Linked DNA regions of Homo sapiens: all the other regions are linked to region 1. Evidence: promoter capture Hi-C in 16 types of primary human blood cells and fetal thymus (Javierre and others, 2016). All regions are on one chromosome and are shown on one strand. The core of a region is centred on a gene start or on the middle of the fragment in contact, and the rest is flanking DNA. Distances in the headings are between cores, read along the strand shown. Region 1 holds the start of LIG4 (DNA ligase 4). Region 2 has its middle 6.6 kb from the start of IRS2. Region 3 holds the start of LINC03082 (long intergenic non-protein coding RNA 3082).

The links. The method cuts DNA at HindIII sites, captures the fragments that hold promoters and counts their contacts. A CHiCAGO score of 5 or more calls a contact.
Region 2: a fragment that was not itself captured here is called in contact with the fragment with the promoter of LIG4 in region 1 in 3 of 17 cell types (naive CD4 T cells, monocytes and naive B cells); the score reaches 6.6 in naive CD4 T cells.
Region 3: a fragment that was not itself captured here is called in contact with the fragment with the promoter of LIG4 in region 1 in 1 of 17 cell types (monocytes); the score reaches 5.2 in monocytes.

The regions. Positions count from the first base shown.
Region 1 is chr13:108,214,171-108,216,870 of GRCh38, reverse strand. It overlaps LIG4 (DNA ligase 4), which reads left to right and starts at 1,335. Exons shown (of 3, transcript NM_206937.2): 1 at 1,335-1,387; 2 at 2,261-2,333. RefSeq lists a silencer at 1,133-1,272 and an enhancer at 1,116-1,410. The HindIII fragment of the contact is 5,824 bases long and covers 1-2,700 here.
Region 2 is chr13:109,791,876-109,794,575 of GRCh38, reverse strand. No RefSeq gene overlaps it. Among named protein-coding and RNA genes, the nearest start is that of IRS2, 6.6 kb to the right of the region's middle. The HindIII fragment of the contact is 4,709 bases long and covers 1-2,700 here.
Region 3 is chr13:110,126,759-110,129,458 of GRCh38, reverse strand. LINC03082 (long intergenic non-protein coding RNA 3082) reads left to right here and starts at 323. Exons shown (of 3, transcript NR_187462.1): 1 at 323-602. RefSeq lists enhancers at 1,745-2,552, 2,553-2,700. The HindIII fragment of the contact is 4,195 bases long and covers 1-2,700 here.

The DNA.
Region 1 (2,700 bases), core at 86-2,585:
ATGAAATGGAGACTGGGCTTTGAATCAATTTGGAGTTTGCCTGGTTTCATAATTCATGGTTCTTCTCATGTAACTAATACAAAGTCCAGCTTCTGACATTGTAGGAGCTCAGTAGAGGTTGAACAAGCTACAAATGTACACGGATAGGTACCCTCTCCTAAGATGGGCAAGTGGAGGCTCCTCTACCTTAACACTATTCATTTTTCCTCCAAAATAAATTGATAACTAAATTGAAGAGCAGATACTCACAAAACAATATCATGAGACTTTACAACATCACAGATGATTTTAGATATTCAGGCATATTAGGTCAATTAGACATACGAAGTAAATAACTGAATGTTCTTGGGCTAGACGGAACCTCCGCTACAAACTAGCACTGAATGAAATGTGTCAGTTTTGAAAAAGGAGGTTTTTATACATTACACAACCTCTAAGGGCACTTAACAGCTCTAATATGTTTTATCAGGGCCCACTGCAGCAAAATTTATTTTATTGTAAAGCAATATTTTATGCTAAAATAAAATAGTTCTAAAAGTTGTTTCCACCCCTCTTTATGAATAACTTCTCACTTCTCCATGGCGAAAGAGGACTGACCACAGCAAAAATTCGGTGGAAACCAACAGCTCCTGGAACACAAAAACTGGGGTTGTTTATAATCTCTCCACCCTGAATATCTAGCACCATTACTATATAATAATAGGTGCTCAATAAAGGTTTGTTAAATAACTTTATTTTTAAACCTTAAACAGATACTAGAAGAGTCCATAGTTGATTTCTGGTCATGCAACGGTTTATTTCTATATTGTAAGTTATGTATTGTTATGTATTATTTCTGTATTAAGAGAACTGAGACCACAGTAGCAAACATCATTTAAAAAAAAAAACAGCTCTATATAGTTTGCAAAAGCCTATTTTTTAAAAGTTTAAATGAAACAACCAACGTTTTGAGTTGGGAGGATGTCCTGTTCTCTCTTGGGAGTTTTCACAACCAGCGAAATCAGTATAGTTACCACTGTTTTACGTACAGAGAACAAGAATTAGAGGCTATCACTAGCCAGAGCACAAAGTGATCTTAGGTCTCCCTCGAGACAAAATCCACTGGCGTGTGGATCAACTGCTTGCAGAGAGCATCTGCTGCCGAGGCCAATAGGAGCCGTGTGTACTCAAGACCCTAACCAGGATCCTGCAGGTCCCGCCTCCGCAGCCCCACGGGGCTGCCGGCCCCCCCACCTCCCATCGCGAGCCTGGCTGCGCCGGCGTGCTTGAGCCCGGTGACTGCAAGGCCCCGGGTCTCCCCTGCGCCTGCGCGGCGAGCAGCTGGCGGAACCGGCATCTTCTGGCGCCAGCTTCCGGCTTAGCGGCTGAGCTTCAGGCTTGACGTCAGGTGGGAAGGGTGTGGGGTGGCAGGTGGGGGCGGTTGGGAGGTTGGGGGGGGTTGGGGTGGGGGGGGTGGGGGGTGGCAGATTGACGGTGTGGGGGGAGTCAAGTGGAAGGTGTGGTCCAGCAGGCGGCGAGAAGTCTGTGGGGCAACAGACCGGGGGAAGGTCTGTGGGGCGTCAGGCGGGGTATCTGTGGGACGTCAGGTTGGGGTCTGTAGGGCGTCACGTTGGGGGTCTGTGGGGCGTCAGAGGGGGGAATCTGTGGGGCGGCAGGTGGGGGGTGTTCGGGGCGGGGTTTGGGGTGTGTGTGGCGGCAGGAGGCGGGGGAGGTCTGTGGGGCGTCAGGTTAGGGTCTGTGAGGTGTCAGGCGGGGTTTACGTGGGGTGGCAGGTGTGGGGTGTGTGGAGAGTCAAGTGGGGGGTGTGGGGCGTCAGATTGGGGGTCTGGGGGATCAGATGGGTGGTGTCTGGGACGTCAGGCGGGGGTCGGGGGGTCGTCAGGCGGGGGATGTGTGGGGAGTCAAGTAGGGGAAGTGGGGCGTCAGATTGGGGGTCTGGGGGATCCGGTCGTGGGGGTGTCTGGGACGTCAGGCGGGGGGCCTGAGGGGCGTCAGGTGGGGGGGTCTGGGAGGCGTCAGGCGGGGGTCGGTCTATGGGGGCAGCAAGCAGGGTGTTTGTGCAGCGGCAGGTGATGGGAGTTGCCGAGTCCACAGCGCTGTAGACTGCGCCGCATTAGAAGCCTGGCCTCCTGATGCTGTGCTCTTCATCTAGACCCAAGCCCCAGGTCGTGGGACGATTTCTCCCGTTTTTGACTCCCTGGAACTGTATTGCCTGCTTTACCTGCGTACATGTTGATTCTTTCTCATGGCAACCCCGCAGGAAACCATCAAGATCTCATTTTACAGCTGGGATTCTCTGGTTCACAGAGGTAACGGAGCTTGCCCGAGGCCAGGTATTCACTGGGAATCCGTGAAGGGTTGGGGGAGAGTAGGGGGAACGGGCAGAGGAATGATGTAGACTCCTTAGGGATTTTCCATTTTCCGAGAGGGTACAGGGGGCATTGGAGCGGGAGAGACTTTAGGCTTGGAGGGAATTACTTTATTTCTCTTCTTACACTTGGTCTTTCATTAACTTTTGGGATCCCAAAGCCCTTCTAGCGTCTTTGTCTGCTCATTTCTTTTTGCTGAGATTGTCCCAAATTGTCACTAAGTGCTGTGGAAGATAGGCAGCTGTAAACCCTTTGTTTCCTAGGGAAACACAGCTTGTCAAGGGTTGCATGAAGGATACTTCAGTTGCATTCGTCACTTACTCCTTTTTTT
Region 2 (2,700 bases), core at 145-2,644, 1.6 Mb before region 1:
TGATTTGGCTATGTTCATGTAGGTTCTCCACCTCCCACTGATTTGTGAGCTTCCTAAGCACACTGTCAGGGTTTGAGATTTTACTCCCTTTCCCTTAGAAAGTAATGTTAGCCCGTCACCGTTAGGTGGATGCTGGCAGAGGATGTAAGCCTTTCCGGTCAGAGACTCATGGCACAGAAAGTGGCATGACTTGCCTCTATTCCTCTTGCTTCCCGGGCAGCATGGGGCAACAGGGCGGGGCCTGTTGGATGCCACGCCTGCAGTGGGCTGTGTTTCGGCTGACACAAAGGACTTGGGTAATCCACCATTTTTGTAGCAGGAAATAAGCAGGCCCGCACTTTGTTCTGGAATGCGACCTCACCTCTTAGTGTGGTTTGCTGCAAGCACAACCCTTAAAAAAGGCTTGAGTAAAGCAAAGCCAGGGTCTTGCGTATTTCACTGACCCACTAACAGGCGTGGGAGCAGGAGAGACGCACAGAGGAGGGCCTTTCCCAGCAGACACAGCTGAGTGGTTGTGGTCGGTTTGCATTTTGATGTCCACAGGATCAGTGTCTAGTACAAAGTAGGTGCTTAAGAAACGTTGATAAATTTGACCGAATCCAACATTTCACTGGGTTAGAATGAATTTACCACCACACAGCATAACTACATCACTACATCTATTGAGTATTATTCTCTACTACACAGATGGGTCCTCACACTATGGACCCAGGCAGCGTCAAGAGTCCAAAACGGTACCTTCTAAAGGAAGCAACCTAAAAATAAAAGAAATAGAATTACTGTTTGACTCATTAAAACTAATTTCTGTGAAATGAAATTTAGAAACTTCCTCAGCTCAGAGATAAAAGTCACTTTCTCTACTCTACACCATTAGTAAGAAGAAGGTAAAATTGCAGCATTGGACATTAAAATCAAGCACTAAGAAAGTTTTTTTAAAAAAGCCAGATGATGGTTATAATATATGGCAATTTTTATCTTCAAATTATGTGTGGCAATATTGTAACAAAAGACACAAGAAAAAAATATTTGAGGAAAGAAATAGTTGAGGAAAATAGTGCCTTATTACTTAGACAGAAAGCTAATGGGGCAAAGACCTATGTTCTGGGTAATTCTTAGTATACGTTTGAGGCTTAACAAATATCTAGCACATTTTTAGTAACAATGTTTGCGGATTTTTATATTTTGAATTGAAAATGCCATAAATGCACCTTCACGATAAAGGGTGAGCCCACTTTTGTATTATTCTGTAACTAAAACATGATGATATTTAAAACAACAAAGCAAAATGATGATCTAGATATTAATTTCCTTTAAAGTTTATATTGTGAGAGACAAGGGTGCCATTTTGAAATTGTGGTGTACTTTTAGTGTGAAGAAACTTTAAAACTAGGTACAAGTTTATCAAAATAAAACAGGTAAGTATCAAGTCTCAAAAATATGTATTTCATTTTCTGTGTGCTTTTAGTAGCAGTGAGAATCATGTTTTTAAATTCTCACTTTTACTACCTAAAAGGAAATTTTTGTAGTATAAAATATAATTTTAAGATGTTTTCAATATATAATTCCTATTTTTTTTCTCTTTTAGCAAGACAACCTTGGGCTGACATTCGAAATTTTTACTAAAGAACCAGCAAGTACTAAAATGCAGGCTGATGTTTACACTTTCAGTAGTAATTCTTAGAATGTGTTTATCTGAACTGAAATCTCTACTTAACAGTCAGCGGGAAATGGCAATAAATGGCATCTGCCCTAAATTTCACAAGTTGTTGCTTTATTTATTTTCTTGTGAACCTCATTAATCCATACTCCCTCAAGTCACTTTAGTTTAGTTAATATTATTTGTGTGACAAAAGTGTTTTGAACAAGGAAAAATGGAAAATTCATGTATAAATAGCTAATCATTGGTCTTAAACATAGCATATACACGGAGGCTCAGAGGACAGGTTGGTAAAGATTACTCAAAAGGAGAATTAAAAGACCGCTCAATTCTCAGTTGTGTCATAATCGTATCTTTATGGTAGCTACATATTATAAAATGTTTTTTATTTATCCCTCATACTAGTAAGCGTCAAATTCATGATCTTTGTGAGTATACTGACAAACTACTCTCACAAGCTATTACTATTATTGATATTTTATATATCAACTTTTTTTCATCCATAAAAGTACCTCAACGACATGTTCAGTAGCAAATAAGTTTTCAGATCCCTTCACTCTATTGAATAACAGCTCTGAACACTTTGACTAACTTGAATATCTTCTATTTGCAATGCCTAAAGATTGAGAATAAAGCAGTTAAGAAGGAAGGTGTAATTTGTAAATTTAGAATTGCCAAATTAGTAATGAGTATGTAAGTTCAAATAATTTTACGCAATCAAAAAGATAGTGACATTCGATGCTTATTGCCATTTGTTATTTATGTTTTTAAAATACATTTTTGTTATGTGTCATTTTCAGAGTATGTTTTCTTTCCTATCTTACTTTTTCCAATTTGCTTTTCAATCTTTCAAGATGACTTTGGCTTATCCTAAAAAGAATGTGAGACTTAAAGGTCAATGTAGGGGAGAAATACAATTAAAAAACACTTGGCTTGCCAGATAAGCAAATCTTGATTATAACTTATTTTTGATTAGGTAAACATTCTAAAATAATACTGAATTTAGATTCTTGTTTTTATTTTGTTGGCTAGTATTCTAAACT
Region 3 (2,700 bases), core at 145-2,644, 1.9 Mb before region 1:
AACGAAGTGCCACAAACTGCCTGGCTGAAAATAACAGGAATTTGTGTCTCACCATTCTGGAGGCTGGAATTCTACGATCAAGGTGATGTCAAGGCCAGACTGTCTCTGAGGCTCGGGGTAGAAGCTGTCCTGCCTCTTCCCGGTTTCCGGTGGGGCCAGCGGTGCTCGCGGATGCTCCTGCAGGCTTGTACATGCGTCGTCACAACCTCCGCCTTCAGCCACACCCCGTGTTCTTCTTGTGTGTCTCGGTCTTCACGTGGCGTGCCTCTTTTTTATAAGGACAGTGGTTTTATTGGATGCGGGGCCCACCCCATTCCAATGTGACCTCGTTCTAATTAATTACATCTGCAAGGACCTTATTTCCAAATAAGGTGACATTCTGAGGTCCTGGGGGTTAGGACTTCAACATCATTTTTGGAGAAAACCATTCGACCTTTGACAATGCCCAAGTAAAACGGTTTCATTTTTAGCGAGTGGACGTTCGAGTTCTCTATTTGAGGCATTTTTCTCAAGGATTTCTAACAATAGCTCACGTTATAGGTTGCGTTTATTTTTCACCATAATGATTTTTAAAATGTCAAAGCCTTGGCCCAACGACATGGGTGAGTTTGTTTTTATTGTTAGAAAGGATTCTATGCTGCTTTCAAATGTCTGCAGGTTTATTTTTAGCTGGACAGGAAGTGCATCTTACGCTTATGTTGGTTTGTAGGCTGCCCCCTTTTTTGGAGGAATGTTATTGTTAGAAAACCACGTTCAGTTTGGAGATGAGTTTGGATTGAGCACCACGCAAATCTAAGTTATAATTATACTACTCTCCGCTATAGATTTTCCAAAATAATCTTTCTGTTCATCAGAATTTGAAACCTTTCAAATAATGGTTCCGTTTGTTATTCACAATTTCACAGCCCAGCAGCTGCCTTTTATTTGTCTTTAAATGAAAGGTCAAGAGGTTTTGATGTAACCTGGGGTTGAATTGAAGGTAGCATGTCCATGTAGTGAGATGTAAAGTGAAAAATAAAAAAAAAAAAACATAAAAATGCTATGTCGTGACCACAAGATACCAGAATCATTCTTATTTGTTATGACTAAACATCCAGTTATTTCAAAGGGAGGGAAATAGTTCAATCCAGAGCTTACCTAAATTTTTCATTGTTTCAGCAAAGGGGCTTGTGATTTGGGGGAAGTTTAGTTCTTAAGTAGAGGACCTTTCCATCAGACAAGCTGCTTGTATTTGTTGCTGGTGCCACGGATAAGCTAGTATTTCAGAAGAGAGCAAGGTAATCCCATCCTAATGCCGTAATGAGGGTCACAGTGAGGTACGGGAAACGGTGGGACTTTCCACCTAAAAATATCTGCCAGCAGTTATATTGTCAGTTGGCTGTGATCTCCACCTCCAGCAGTGAACCTTCGGGGAGGAGGTTCTTTGACCTTCCTTGGTGTGATTGCCTGGGGAAAGTGATCATTTCATGGAATCGTGTCTGTTTCTCCATCCTCTTCTTTGAGGGACTTCTGAATGAATAAGGTATCACTCTCACACCCCAAACCAACACTTTAACCCTCTGTTGAAATACTATTTAAAGGATGGTTGCATGAGGATGGATTCTATTTTTGCCTGTGACCAAACACAATGAGTCTTAAAAAATAGCCTAGATTTCTTTCTGCTTTGCCTTGAGTGATGATTACAAACACCCCAGCCTTCCACGTTGGTAAGGGCCACTCTCAGGTTCACTAGTATATCTGATGGTGACCACTTACTAAGGTGCCTCCTGTGAGCCGGGCACATATCATGTGTGTGGCACGTCCCATCTCATTTACTCCTTACAACAGCCAGATGAGCTACAACACCCAGATGGTGCTCCCTATATCGCCTTTACAGAGAGGTGACATGGTGGTATGGAGGTAGCCAGGAAAAACCGCGCGGAGGCTCCGACCATCCATCTCTTTGCTTTAGGCCTGGGATCACTTGCAGATGAACCATCTGCCCCCTCCCTTGGGCTTTCTGGAGGGATGGACAAAGTACAGTATTAAGGCTACGCTTCTCTCTGTGCAAACAGCCCTCTTCCCATTTTAGGAAGGAAGCTCTTTATGCTGGAGAGACCCCCATGAACTAAGGAGCAGCTCAAAGCGAGCTTCCATGTCCTTCCAGGGGTCTGTGGATCTTCTGCTACTGCTTTAGCATCTCTGCTCTCCTCCCCTTCCCAGGCTCTGATAGAACCCTGAGGGCCTCACTTCCCTTGCTTCTGGACTTGCAACTAGGAATACATTTAAAAAGTCTCCTCCAGAGGAGCACAATTCCAGCTAAGCCAATCATCCATTCGAACCTTCATGTCTTGGGTTATCGGTTTTCTACTGCAAGGGACGCACCTCGTTCCTTGGAGGGTTACATGGGGTTTGTTGATGGTGTAATCAATTGCCCATGTGATTTGGAAAGACAAACTCGGCGGGTTGAAGCAGGATGTATCCTTCCACATTTTAATTGCTCCCAAGAATGATCAGATAATTGCCTTCCTTTGAAGGATCCATGAGAATGTGCTGAAGTGTCCCAGCAAAACAAAAGAGAGTCTCTGAGCGGCTTCTATTCTTGTCTGGCTCTGTTGACAGCGATTGAATGCTCTGGGGAAGAGAAAAGGCTGGCAGGGAGCCTGGGCCCAGAGGAACGTGAGGAGAGCTGGGCCCCCTCCGAGAGACGTTAGTGTGCTG